Regions from separate parts of the Homo sapiens genome. Here regions 1 and 3 are each linked to region 2. The links are contacts of gene promoters, found by promoter capture Hi-C in human tissues and cell types (Jung and others, 2019). All regions are on one chromosome and are shown on one strand. The core of a region is centred on a gene start or on the middle of the fragment in contact, and the rest is flanking DNA. Distances in the headings are between cores, read along the strand shown.

Region 1 (4,070 bases), core at 1,398-3,897, 110 kb before region 2:
GGTCTGACTCCAGAGAGATAAGGAAGTGCTTTAGTTAGAGGCTTCCCTGGGAGTATCTGCCAATGCCTGGTAATCTGCAGTTTGAATTTTAGTGGGCCCCTGGCAAGGGCAAGAAAAAAGAGCTAAGCCCTAAGCAATGTGAAAAGTCAGATCAGAAATCTCACTCACAAGGATCACCAAATGCTGACACCTTAATAAATGGATGAAACAGAAATAAATGGATGAAACAGAAACACACACATGCACAACTGTGGTGAAGGAACTTGCCTGTCTTGGCTTTGGCTCTGAACAAAACAGGAAAAAAGACTACTCTGGGCTGGGTGCAGTGGGTCATGCCTGTAATCCCAGCACTTTGGGAGGCAGAGGTGGGTGGATCACGAGGCCAGGAGTTCGAGACCGGCCTGACCAACATGGTGAAACCCCATCTCTACTAAAAATACAAAAAAATTAGCCAGGCGTGGTGGTGCGTGTCTGTAATCCCAGCTATTCAGGAGGCTGAGGCAGGAGAATCACTTGAACCCGGGAGAAGGAGGTTGCAGTGAGTTGAGATAGTGCCACTGCACTCCAGCCTGGGGAACAGAGCGAGACTCCATCTCAAAAAAAAAAAAAAAGACTATTCTGAGAATTTGTAACTGCAACCTTGTTTCCTTTCATAAGAGCAGAGTAGGAAAATTGGCACATGTGCATGGTCTGATAAATCTAAAGCTATGAATTTAATTCAAAATTGCATGAGTTGTTAGGGAAAAATTGAGGACAAGTTGATTCGGAAGAATTCTCCTTTAAACACAGGAATCCAAGAAATTCCACAAAGTATTGTTACATACATAAACTTCCATTAAATATGTACTCTCACAATAAAAAAAATCACACAGATCTTAAGAAAACAAGATGAAAAAAATCAAGAAAAACAACCAACAGCAGAGGTCCACAAAGACTTCAGATATTGGAGTTACTGTATTGTATTGTAGCGAGTTATTGTATTGTAGGAAAGGAACATAGAAAAAGGATTCCTGATTCTGTCTTTGGGGTAGGAAGGGCACGTGATAAAAACTTTCATTCAAAAGGTAAAAGACAAGCCAATAAGGGTTTTAGAAGATTACCCTTGATCCTGGAAGATGTTCATAATACATATAACTGAGGAAAGACATGACTCCAGTAGAAATCAGCAAGAAAAAGTCAGAAAACCCCAGAGAACAATGAGCAAAACATTTGAAAAGAAAATCAAAGAGAGGATAGCCAAGTGGTTAATAAAGATCTAAAAAGGTGCTCAACCTCATTAGTAGTCAAGAAATTTAAATTAAGTCCACAGTGATGTATTTCCATACTCGTAGCAGGATGGTAAAAATGAAAAGATTGTGACAGTTCTACATACAGCATGGTTATGGAACAATAGGAACTCTCAACTACCAATGGCAAGGCTGTGAATTGGTACAAACTCTTTGGGAAATAATTTGGTATCAGCTTGAGAAGCTGAAGATATGCATACCCTGTAACCCATCATTCCCTATGCTGAATGTATAACCTACAAGAACACCTGCCCACGTGCTCCAGCAAATGCACACAGAGTGTTCATAGCAGCTTTATTCTTTTTTTTACATGAGTAAATTGTTTAAAATTTTTTTGACATTTAAAAACATTTATTAATTCATTTAACGTAATAAACTTATTACATGTTGATATAAATAACATTTTTATTTAGAAAATCCTAGTTTTTTATTATACTTTAAGTTCTGGGATACACGTGCAGAACGTTATTACATACATGCTATGTATACACACAGCAGCTTTATTCTTAACAGCTGCAAACTATAAACAACTCAGTAGAGATGTGTGTAGTCATACAATAGATGGCATGGCAATGAAAATTGACAAAATACAGCTACACAAAACAATGTGGATGGAATTCATTAATATAATGTTGAACACAAAAAGCCAGGCACAAAAGAATACATTCCAAGTGACTCCATTGATATAGAACAGAAGCAGACAAAAACAAAAACATATTTAGGGGAATACATATGATCTTGAAAATATGAAAAAGAAAGTCACTACCATTAGCTGCCTTTGAGAGCATAGGAAGGGGTTGTGACTGGAAAAGAATGAAAAAGGAGCAGAAAGTGTTGGAAATTTTTTACTTGATTTCAGTGATAGTTTAATGAGTGGTCACTTCGTAATAGTTCGTTAGACTGAACATTAATGTTTCATGCATATTTTTATTTTTGTGGTGTTTTTCACAATACATATTTTTACAAAAAGGAAAAGTAGCTCTTCCTTGTTTTGTCTCCTTTTCTTTACTAACTGAACTAGTCAGTCCTAAAGCCATTAGATAGGCACATTTAGCAAGGTAGGCGTTTGCCCCAAGGGGAAGGGAGCCACGGCTGGCTCCGTGTGGGCATCAGAGCTGGAACAGGTCAAGGAGGGTGTCTCTGTAGGAGGGCTGCTGGCCTGGTGTGCTGGAGCCAGGGGTAGATGAGAATGCCCAGTGAAGAGGCAAGAAGCAGCATAGCATGGAGACCAGCCTGCCCATGTTGAGAAAGGCATCCCCCTGGGGCTAGAGGGGCAGACTGGCATAGAATGAGAGCCTGAGTGGGGTGAGCAGAGTGTCCAGGCAGGGGAGCAGATGAGGGAGGAGCCTTAGAGCTGGAGCAAAGTGAGGAAGCTGTCTCCATAGGGAAGAGGCCTGATGTGGACTGTCCGAACTGAAGGAGGGTGAGGAGGGTGTCTATGGGGGTGGGTAGCCAGACATGGAGGGTCTGAGCCCAAGGAGATGAGGAGGATACATAGAAGTTAGAGTGGTCGGCTGTGGGGAGTTGGGCCAAGCATAGTGAGGAGGGGTTCCACAGAACAGAGCTGTCTTGTGTCAGGAATCAGAGCCTAAGCAGGGTGAAGAGGGCATCAATGCATCCAGCGATTCTCCTGCCTTAGCCTCCCTAGTAGCTGGGACTACAGGTGTGCGCCACCACGCTCGGCTAAGTTTTGCATTTTTAGTAGAGACGGGGTTTCACCATGTTGGCCAGGCTGGTCTCGAATGCAACCTGATATGGCTGTTGGAGCCCAAGTAGGGTAAGTTGGGCATCTTTGAGTGGCCCAGTGTGGAGGGGCAGAGCCTGAGCAAGGTAAAGTTTGATATTTTAAATTAAACAAGCATATAATATGTATCTAAACATTTTCAAAAAATTAAAACAGGAGTAGTAGTGATGGGTTATATTATTATTCACAACTATTCATTCCATCTTTCCTTTAAGAGGACACTCCTGTCCATTACCTTGCAATTTTAGAACGGCCCGTGGAAGGAAGACACATTTCTGTCTCATTGACTTTGGGTTTGCTGTCAGCTGTGCTTTGCCTATTGGAGTATGAGCAGATGTAGCATATGCATAGTGAGTTTTGCACTGTGAGTTTCTGCCAGCTCCTTTGTGCTTTCTCTCTGCCAGGAGAAGGGGCCTAATCCACATAGAGGCTGCTTCTTTTGTCTTGGTCCCACAGCCTCAAGTAGAGCCCCCACTTGGAACAAAGCAGTAGACAATTTGCCTAGGAAGTCTTTTGTTGTGGCAAGCCATGGAGAGCTCAAAGTTCTTTGTACACCAAAGTAATAAAAATACAGTTGATTCCCATTACTTGGGGGTAGTTATGTTCTGTAAAGTCACTGTGAACACCGGATTAGCAAATACTGAGCCATTGCTCCTAGGGAAAATGCAAGCCTCTGACCACACATTTTCATCATTTGATCAATACATAACCTTGTTTTTATATGTGCTTCTGTCTGAAGACACATGACAGAGATGGTAATTAGAAGGTGCACACAGAAGACTTCTGGGAAGCTGGCTACTTTCTATTTTTTAATCTGTGTGGTTAATTATTAAATAAAACTCTACATACTTTATTTATTTATTTATTTTTATTTTTATTTTTTTTGTTTTGTTTGAGAGGGAATCTCTCTCTGTCCCCCAGGCTGGAGCATAGTGGTGTGATCTCGGCTCTCTGCAACCTCCACCTTCTGGGTTCAAGGGATCCTCCTGCCTTAGCCTCCTGAGTAGCTGGGACTACAGGTGTGCACCACCACTCCAGGC
Region 2 (3,633 bases), core at 880-3,379:
TCAGAGAGGTAAACAACATGCTCAGGATCACATAACTAGAAAATGGCAGAACTAGGATTCAAACCTCCAGGCTGCCTCCCTGGCTCAGGAGGCCATCTGACCTTGTCCCTCTTCCTGCCTCAGTCTGTCCATCTGAGATAAGGGAACAAATTCTTCATCCATCAAACAGCAAAGACTCCCTCCTTTGCTCCTCCACCTCTCTCATCTGGCTGCTGCCTGCTTTCTCTCCAAATCTTCCTCTCTCCTTCTGGTCCTCCTCTCCCTGGCCCAGAGGAGGGGACTCATGACCTTGAAGCTGCCCTTGGTGGGCTGCCAGTCCCCCTCCACTTACCACCTCCCTGCTGATCGGTGTCTTGGGTCACCGTATTACAAACCTTCCCAGCCTGTGCTGGCATCTTCAAGGAAATAACAGAGAGGAAAAGTCACAGGGGCTGTATTCTGGATAAAGAACATCATTACAGTACCTTGGTTCTCTCCAGGTCCTATCCCTGCCTCTAATCCTCAGCATTTTCCTCTGGAGAACGGAAAGCTGAGATTCCATGCTGTTTAAGCCACCCCCTGTTCTGATAGCCTGGTGGAGACTGCAGCTCCAGCAAGCACCTTTGAGAGAGTCCCCAGCTCGCGCTCACTCAATCCTTAGAGTGGAAGAGATTGACTGAAAGACGACGAAGGGCGATACAGTGTCCAGGGAGGATTCCTCACTTTCTTCGAATCACTCAGCCAGTTGGCCTGAAAGGCAAAAGCTGAACCCTCACTATGACTCCAGCAGCCATGGGATGGCGGTGTGACCTTGGGCAAGAACATTTTTTTCTCACCGATGCTCCCTTACACATCTTTAAGATGAGCGGGGCATTTTCCTAAATCTGTAAAGTTCCTTTCCGCCTGGACAGAGGAATTGGGGAAAATCTTGCCAGGCCAGGCTCTCCCAGTCTTTCCCCAGGGCTGGGGGAGGCCCCCAGGGAGGGACTCCAAGAGGAGAGGTGAGCGCCCCAGGCTCCGGGCTTTCCCGCAGGGCAGGCTTCGGCCGGTTCGAGAAGGAAACTGCGGCCCCGGGTCCCCAGGCCGCGGGGAACAATGTCCCGGCTGTGCGTGCCCGGAAGCCCGTCATGCACCAGAGACTCGAATCCCAGCTAGGGGTGGGGACCCCCCCTTGGCTGCGTTTCAACGACGCCTTTGTCTACCCCTGGGCCGTGCGAGGGAGAGGACTGACGGATCTGGTTTCAACCGCCTTGACTTTCCCGGGGGTCCCCGGGTCCGGGGGCGCCCCTGTTCCCGGAACCCGGGCCCTCCCACCTCCTCCCAGCCCAGCGCGGCCCCGCCCCGTTCCCGCTCGGCCGCCGTGGGGTTACCATTGGGCAGAGAGCAGAAGGTGGCACAGCCCGCGCTGCAGCACTTGAGGTTGTCGGCGCATTCGCTGTCCGAGACGCACTCTTGCGTGCAGTTCTGGTCAGCCTGGAGCTCGGGGCACACGCCAGTCTTCTCTGCTCCTGTGCCTGGGAGGGGAGGCCCGGGACAGTCGAGGGTGGGGCGTAGCGCCAGCCCCAGAGGATGCCCACCTCCTGCTCCAAACCTTAACCCCAAGGAATTCTCAGTCTCTGGCCCTAGGAGTCCCCTTACAGCCCCCAGAGACTCCTTCTTCCAGACCAGGAGTCCCTGACCCCTGGGAGTACGAGAGCTCCCTAACCCTTGGCGTCGGGGCCCTCAGATCTCAGCCCTAGGGGACGCCGCACAGCTGAGCGTCTCGGAGCTTCCGAGGTCGAGGCAGAGCAGCCCCCACCCCCAGCCCACTGCAGCCACGGAGTGTCCGCGTTCAGCACAGAATCCTCCCAAATTGCAGCCATCAGTGGTCTCTCCACCTCCAGCACATTGGACCCCACACCCTAGGCTCCAAGGGTCCCCGCCACTTCCGCCCCCGGAATTCCCACTTCCCCAGCCTCCAGAGGCTACGCCTCCGCCTGGCTCCATCCTGGCGCTCGTGGCTCGGCCCCTCTAGGCGCCGGGCCTCTCCCCGCCCCACTCACCTGAGACTAGGGTGAAGCCGAACAGCAGCAGGCTGAGGAGGAGGGCGGCGGCTAGCGGGCCTAGGCGACAAGCAGGCATGGTGCTATGCCCGGGCGGGGTGCAGGTGTGAGCCGATGCTCAGGTGCGGGGATTTAACCGCGCGCGCGGGAGGGGGCGTGGGGTAGGGGTGGAGCCGAGCGGGGAAGGGGAGGGTGGAGGGCTTTGCGGGCACCGCGGGCGGGCTGCCACATGAGGTCATTTCACAATCCCCCAGGATCAGGTATCACTCTTGGCCCCGGTGGGAACCAGGAACTTAAGCAGCTTCCAGGACGGGACCAGCTACGGCCGGACCCTTGTCCACGCCTCCCTCCTGACCTCCCTCCTGGGGCCTGAGGGCCAAGGCTCAGGGCTCCTGGGTTTCTATTCCAAGACTCCGAGGTTTCTCCAGAGTGTCCCCAGTGGGCGGTTGAGGAGGATAAGGCAGGGCCCGCAGGGAGGCAGTAGAGCATGCGGGTTAAAGGGTTCGATTTGGGGTCAGCCAGATGAGAGGGCAGATCCCTCTTGATGGAGGGCTAGGGTAGTGATACAGAGCACATAGTAGGGGCTACAGAAATAGCACTTATTATTAATAAACAAACCCTCCTCATCAGAAACAGGCCCAGGAAGGTGAAGCACCTAGCAGTCTCAAGCCGTTTGGGTGTGTGTTTCTGTCTCCCTCTCTTTGTCCTACCGGCCCCTGATCAGGGCTGACTGTGCCAGGCTCTGTGCTCCTTGTCTCAAGGAATTGTCGCCGGTCCTCTGACCGGGGAGTTACTGTTATCAGCTGTATATGACAAAGGAACTGAGTGTTTAGGGATTTAGGACCGCACCTCCACCACAAGGTCCCCTGCAAAGCTGTACAAATAAGGTTTTGAACCCAGGTCTCTCCCTCCAGGCCCTTGTTTTTTCCATTCCGTCGTAAATATTCACTGGGTGCCTACTGTGTGACATATGCAGGGCAAGACGCTTGGTGAAGAGAAAGTCGTCAAAAGGGGCCCTCCAGCACTGGTCTTGAAGGGGTGACAGGGTCTGGGGTCTGACTCCCACCTCCACCACTTCCCACCTGAGGGCCCTGGAATGAATCCTTTCCTGGATCTGAGCTGCCACATCATCAGTGAAAATGACACCTATATGGGACTTCAGTGAGAACACAAATGCAACGTTCCTGCCACGGAACAACCATGTACTCACTGGGAGCATTGAGAGTAGATCCACACTGATTGACACAGGGACTCCAGGCCTGACCCATGATAGGTACTGGATACATGGCCATGAGTGCTCCACAGATAAGTGTCTCCTGTGACGAAGGAGACCAATAAGTATAAATGAAGCTTTAGAATCCAGGGGGTTAAGTGCCAAAACAGAGTTACCCAGGGAGTTAGACAAGAAGTGCTTCCTGCTCCAATGATCTGAGGTTCTAGAAGCCCCAGGAGGTCTTTGCTGCTGGAGGCTAGAGGGGCCCTGGGGCAGTGAACACTGGGATGATAGTGACAGGTGAGTAGGGTTTGGTGATGTGAGTACATCTGGCCACTGTCCCCAAAATGGATGCTGAGAACACCTCCCCCAGCTTCTCATGCTCAACTTGGGGACTGG
Region 3 (4,058 bases), core at 90-2,589, 79 kb after region 2:
TCCATACAAGACACACCATAAACAAATTTCTGAAAACTAAAGTCTTGAAAGCAGTTGCAGAGAAATTAACCTTACCAATAATACAGCAACAATTTAAATTGCAGCAGATTTCTCATCAGAAACTGTGAAAGCCAGAAAGAAGTGGCACAATATGTTTAAGTACTGAAAGAAAAAACCGTCAACCCAGAATGCTAAGCAAAGTGAAAAAATCCTTCAGGTATGAAAGTCAAGACATTCTCAAATGAAGGAAAAACTAACATAATTTGTTAACTGAAGAACTATAGTAAGTCCTTAATGTCATCAATAGTTTCTTGGAAACTGCAACTTTAACCAAAATGATGTATAATGAAAGCAAGTTTATCGTAGACTAATTGATATTAACAAGGTAAGTCCATACAGCATACTTCTGGTCACAAAAACAATACCACGCTTCTAAATAAATGCCCAGACACATCTAGTATTAAACATTAAAATAAATGTGAGCTATACATACATTTAAGAAAGATTAATAAAACAGGGAAGTTCATTATTTACTCACCTATTGGTGATGTAATTAAAGTGAGGTCATGCTGGATTAGTATAAGCAGTGAGTGACAGCAGTCATCATGGTGGTGAGTTAAACCAAGGAATAAATCTTTGCAGAGCAAAAATTGTAAGGAGTATCTCCTACCACCATGCAGTTCAAAAACAATAATAAATATGGCAGGCTGGCTGAGTGCTCTTATACCAAATTATTTACTGTTATGCATTTGTATGATTATTATATACTTTACAAATTTTTATTTTACAATAATTTGTATTCACTTATTCTTCATTTCCAACCTGCTTATTCCATTTCAGGGTCCTGGGTGGCTGAATCTTATTCTGGCAGCTCAGGGTGCAAGGCACCCTGGAAAGGATGCCATTCCATCACAGAATGCGTGCACGCACACACACACACACCCCTCACTCATACTTGGATAATTTAGATAATTTAGATACACCAATTAACCTAATGTGCACATCTCTGGGATGTGGGAGGAAATTGGAGTGCCCAGAGAAAACCCACACAGACATGACGAGAATGTGCAAACTCTACACAGACAGTGGCCATGGCTGGGAATCAGTTGTTGTTTTTTTTTCTCATCAACATTATAAAGAAATGACGTTAAACAAAATAACATTATTTGAGGACCTGCTGTACCGTGAAAGAATGGCTAAAGGAAGTTCTCCAAACATAAAGGAAATGATGAAAGAAGAAAACCCGAAACATCAGGAGTGAAGAAAGAACAATGGAAATAATAAAAATATGGGTAAATATGATGGGCTATCCTTCTTCACTTGCATTTTCTAAATTATGTTTGATGGCTAAAACAGAAATTATATAACATGGTCTGATGTGGATTCAATTTATGTAATGAAGATATTTAAGACAATTACATTATGAAAGGAGAAGGGTAAAGGGACCTAAATAGAGGTCAGGCTTCTATCCCTCACTCAAAGTGGCAAAAGTGTCGATACCAGTAGATGGTCATAGATTATGTTATGTATGATGTAATATAGAAAGCAGCCACTAAAAAACCTACACAAAGAGATACACTTAAAAAAAACACTTCACCATAGATAAAAAAAATGGAATTCTAAAAACTGTTTAACCCATAGGAAGAGTAGAGAAATAAAAGAGAAGAATGAAAAGCAGAGGGAATGAAAAGAAAACAATCAAATGGCAGGCTTAAACCCTAACAAATAATTGCATTAACTGCCGGTAGTCTATAAATATACTTTATAACTCTGAGACTGGCAAAACGGAGTGAAAAAAATGACCCAAAATAAGCTCTCTACAAGAAACTCACTTCAAATATGACATAGGTAGACTGAACATAAAAGGATGAAAAAAGATACACCATACAAAGATTAATTAAAAGAAAGCAGAGTTAGCAATTTCAATATCAGATGAAATAGACTGCTGAGCAAAGAAAATCACCAGGGCCAAAAAAAGATATTAAATGGGTCAAATCACAAAGAAGACATAGCAATCATACATGTGTACATACCAAACAACAGATCTTAAAAATCTATGAAACAAAAATTGGTAGAACTGAAAAAAAAAATAGACATCTACTATTAAAGTTGGAGACTTCAACACATCTCTCTCAACACTTGATAGAAATACTAGACAGAAGGGTGGGCATGGTGGCTCACACCTGTAATCCCAACATTTTGGGAGGCCAAGGCGGGTGGATCACCTAAGGTCAGGAGTTCAAGACCAGCCTGGCCAACATGGTGAAACCCTGTCTCTACTAAATATAAAAATTAGCCGGGTGTGGTGGCGGGCGCCTGTAATCCCAGCTACTCGGGAGGCTAAGGCAGGAGAATTGCTTGAACCCGGGAGGCGGAGGCTGCAGTGAGCCGAGATTGTGCCACTGCACTCCACCCTGGACGACAGAGCAAGACTCTGTCTCAAAAAAAAAAAAAAAGAAACACTAGACAGGAAAGCAGCAAGGATGTATAAGAACTTTAAAAAGCCATCAATCAAAAGAATCTAATTAATATTTAGACAATACTTCACATAACAATAACAAGATTCACATTCTTTTGAAATGCTTATGGAACACTCACCAAGACTATATCTTAAGTCACAGAATAAAAGTCAACTAAAAAAAATTTTTTTAAAGAGACAGCATCTTGCTCTATTGCCCAGGCCGGAGTGCAGTGGTGCCGATCATGGCTTACTGCAGCCTTCAACTCCTATCCTCAAGTGATCCTCCTACCGTGGCATCCAAGAGACTTGGGATTACAGGCATGAACCACTGCTCCCGGCCTCAAGGAATTTTTGAAAATCAAAATCGCACAGCATGTGTTCTGAGATCACAATGAAATCAAACTAGAAATCAATAACAAAAAGATAATAGGTAAATCTCCAAACATATGGAAATTAAACACCTCATTTCTGAATAATACATGAGTCAAGAGGCGCAGTTGTGCACTGGGTCACCAAGATGACTCTCCCAAACTATACTCCATCACACCTGGCCCCTCTGCCCATGACCCTCAATCCAGCTGAATATGACATACCTCCACAAACTGCAACCTGAGCATTTGGCCATAAATCTGGGTTTAAACAGGGGTACTTAATCAGCACAATGACCCTAACCAATGATGATTCATCGAGGGCTCATCAAACATCTTGGCTTAATTTGTTGGACTTGTGTAAGATCAGCACATGTCTATCCCAATTTCAGACCCATTATCAAATACTCATCCAGTAGCTCTATGTGGAATCGGATCCGGTAGGGATAGGAAAGAAAAGCTTATCCAGGAAGAAAAATTGGATCAAACATTTAACATCTCATATTAAGTCTAGCAATGACGATTTTATGTATTCCTGCTTAAATACACTTCTATTAATCCAAAAATCCCACCACATTTCTAAATAATACATGTGGGCTGGACGCAGTGGCTCACACCTGTAATCTCAATACTTTAGGAGGCCAAGGTGGGTGGATCACCTGAGGTCAGGTGTTCGAGACCAGCGTGGCCAAAATGGTGAAACCCCGCCTCTACTAAAAGTACAAAATTAGACGGGTGTGGTAGCATGTGCCTGTAATCCTAGCTACTCGGGAGGCTGAGGCAGGAGAATCACTTGAACTCAGGAGGCGGAGGTTGCAGTGATCCAAGATCACGCCACTGCACTCCAGCCTGGGCAACAGAATGAGACTCCATCTCAAAAACAAACAAACAAACAAACAAATTTCTAATATTGGTAATTTGTATCTTTCTTTTTCTAAAAAAAATTGGTTAACCTGGCTAGAGATCTGTTAATTTTATTGATAATTCAAAGAGACAGCTTTTGGTTTCACTGATTTTCTCTATCATCTTCTGGTTTTCAATTTCATTGATTTCTGCTTTGATTTTTATTATTTCCTTCTACTTACTTTAAGCTTAAATTGCTCTTATTTCTCTAGTTTCTTCTTTCTGAAGCTTAGATTGACTTTAGATCTTTCTTCTTCTCTAATATATGCATTTAATGCTATAAATTTTCCTCTAAGCATGGCTTTTGCTGCATCCCACAAATTTGG

Evidence for each region. Contacts are between HindIII fragments. The study calls those that stand out against the background at their distance.
Region 1: the fragment with the promoter of WFDC8 here is called in contact with the fragment with the promoter of WFDC2 in region 2 in 2 of the 25 tissues and cell types used here (mesendoderm cells and thymus).
Region 3: a fragment that was not itself captured here is called in contact with the fragment with the promoter of WFDC2 in region 2 in 3 of the 25 tissues and cell types used here (liver, mesendoderm cells and thymus).

Annotation. Positions count from the first base shown.
Region 1 is chr20:45,577,861-45,581,930 of GRCh38, reverse strand. WFDC8 (WAP four-disulfide core domain 8) reads left to right here and starts at 2,647. Exons shown (of 6, transcript NM_130896.3): 1 at 2,647-2,709. The coding sequence starts at 2,684. RefSeq lists an enhancer at 2,897-3,832. The HindIII fragment of the contact is 18,093 bases long and covers 1-4,070 here.
Region 2 is chr20:45,468,249-45,471,881 of GRCh38, reverse strand. It overlaps WFDC2 (WAP four-disulfide core domain 2), which reads right to left and starts at 2,129. Exons shown (of 4, transcript NM_006103.4): 1 at 2,022-2,129; 2 at 1,350-1,493. The coding sequence starts at 2,100. RefSeq lists silencers at 1,205-1,254, 1,275-1,464. The HindIII fragment of the contact is 12,073 bases long and covers 1-3,633 here.
Region 3 is chr20:45,387,626-45,391,683 of GRCh38, reverse strand. All of the region lies in intron 3 of SYS1-DBNDD2 (SYS1-DBNDD2 readthrough (NMD candidate)), which reads right to left. It also overlaps the pseudogene NDUFB4P10. Among named protein-coding and RNA genes, the nearest start is that of TP53TG5, 11 kb to the right of the region's middle. The HindIII fragment of the contact is 5,202 bases long and covers 1-3,940 here.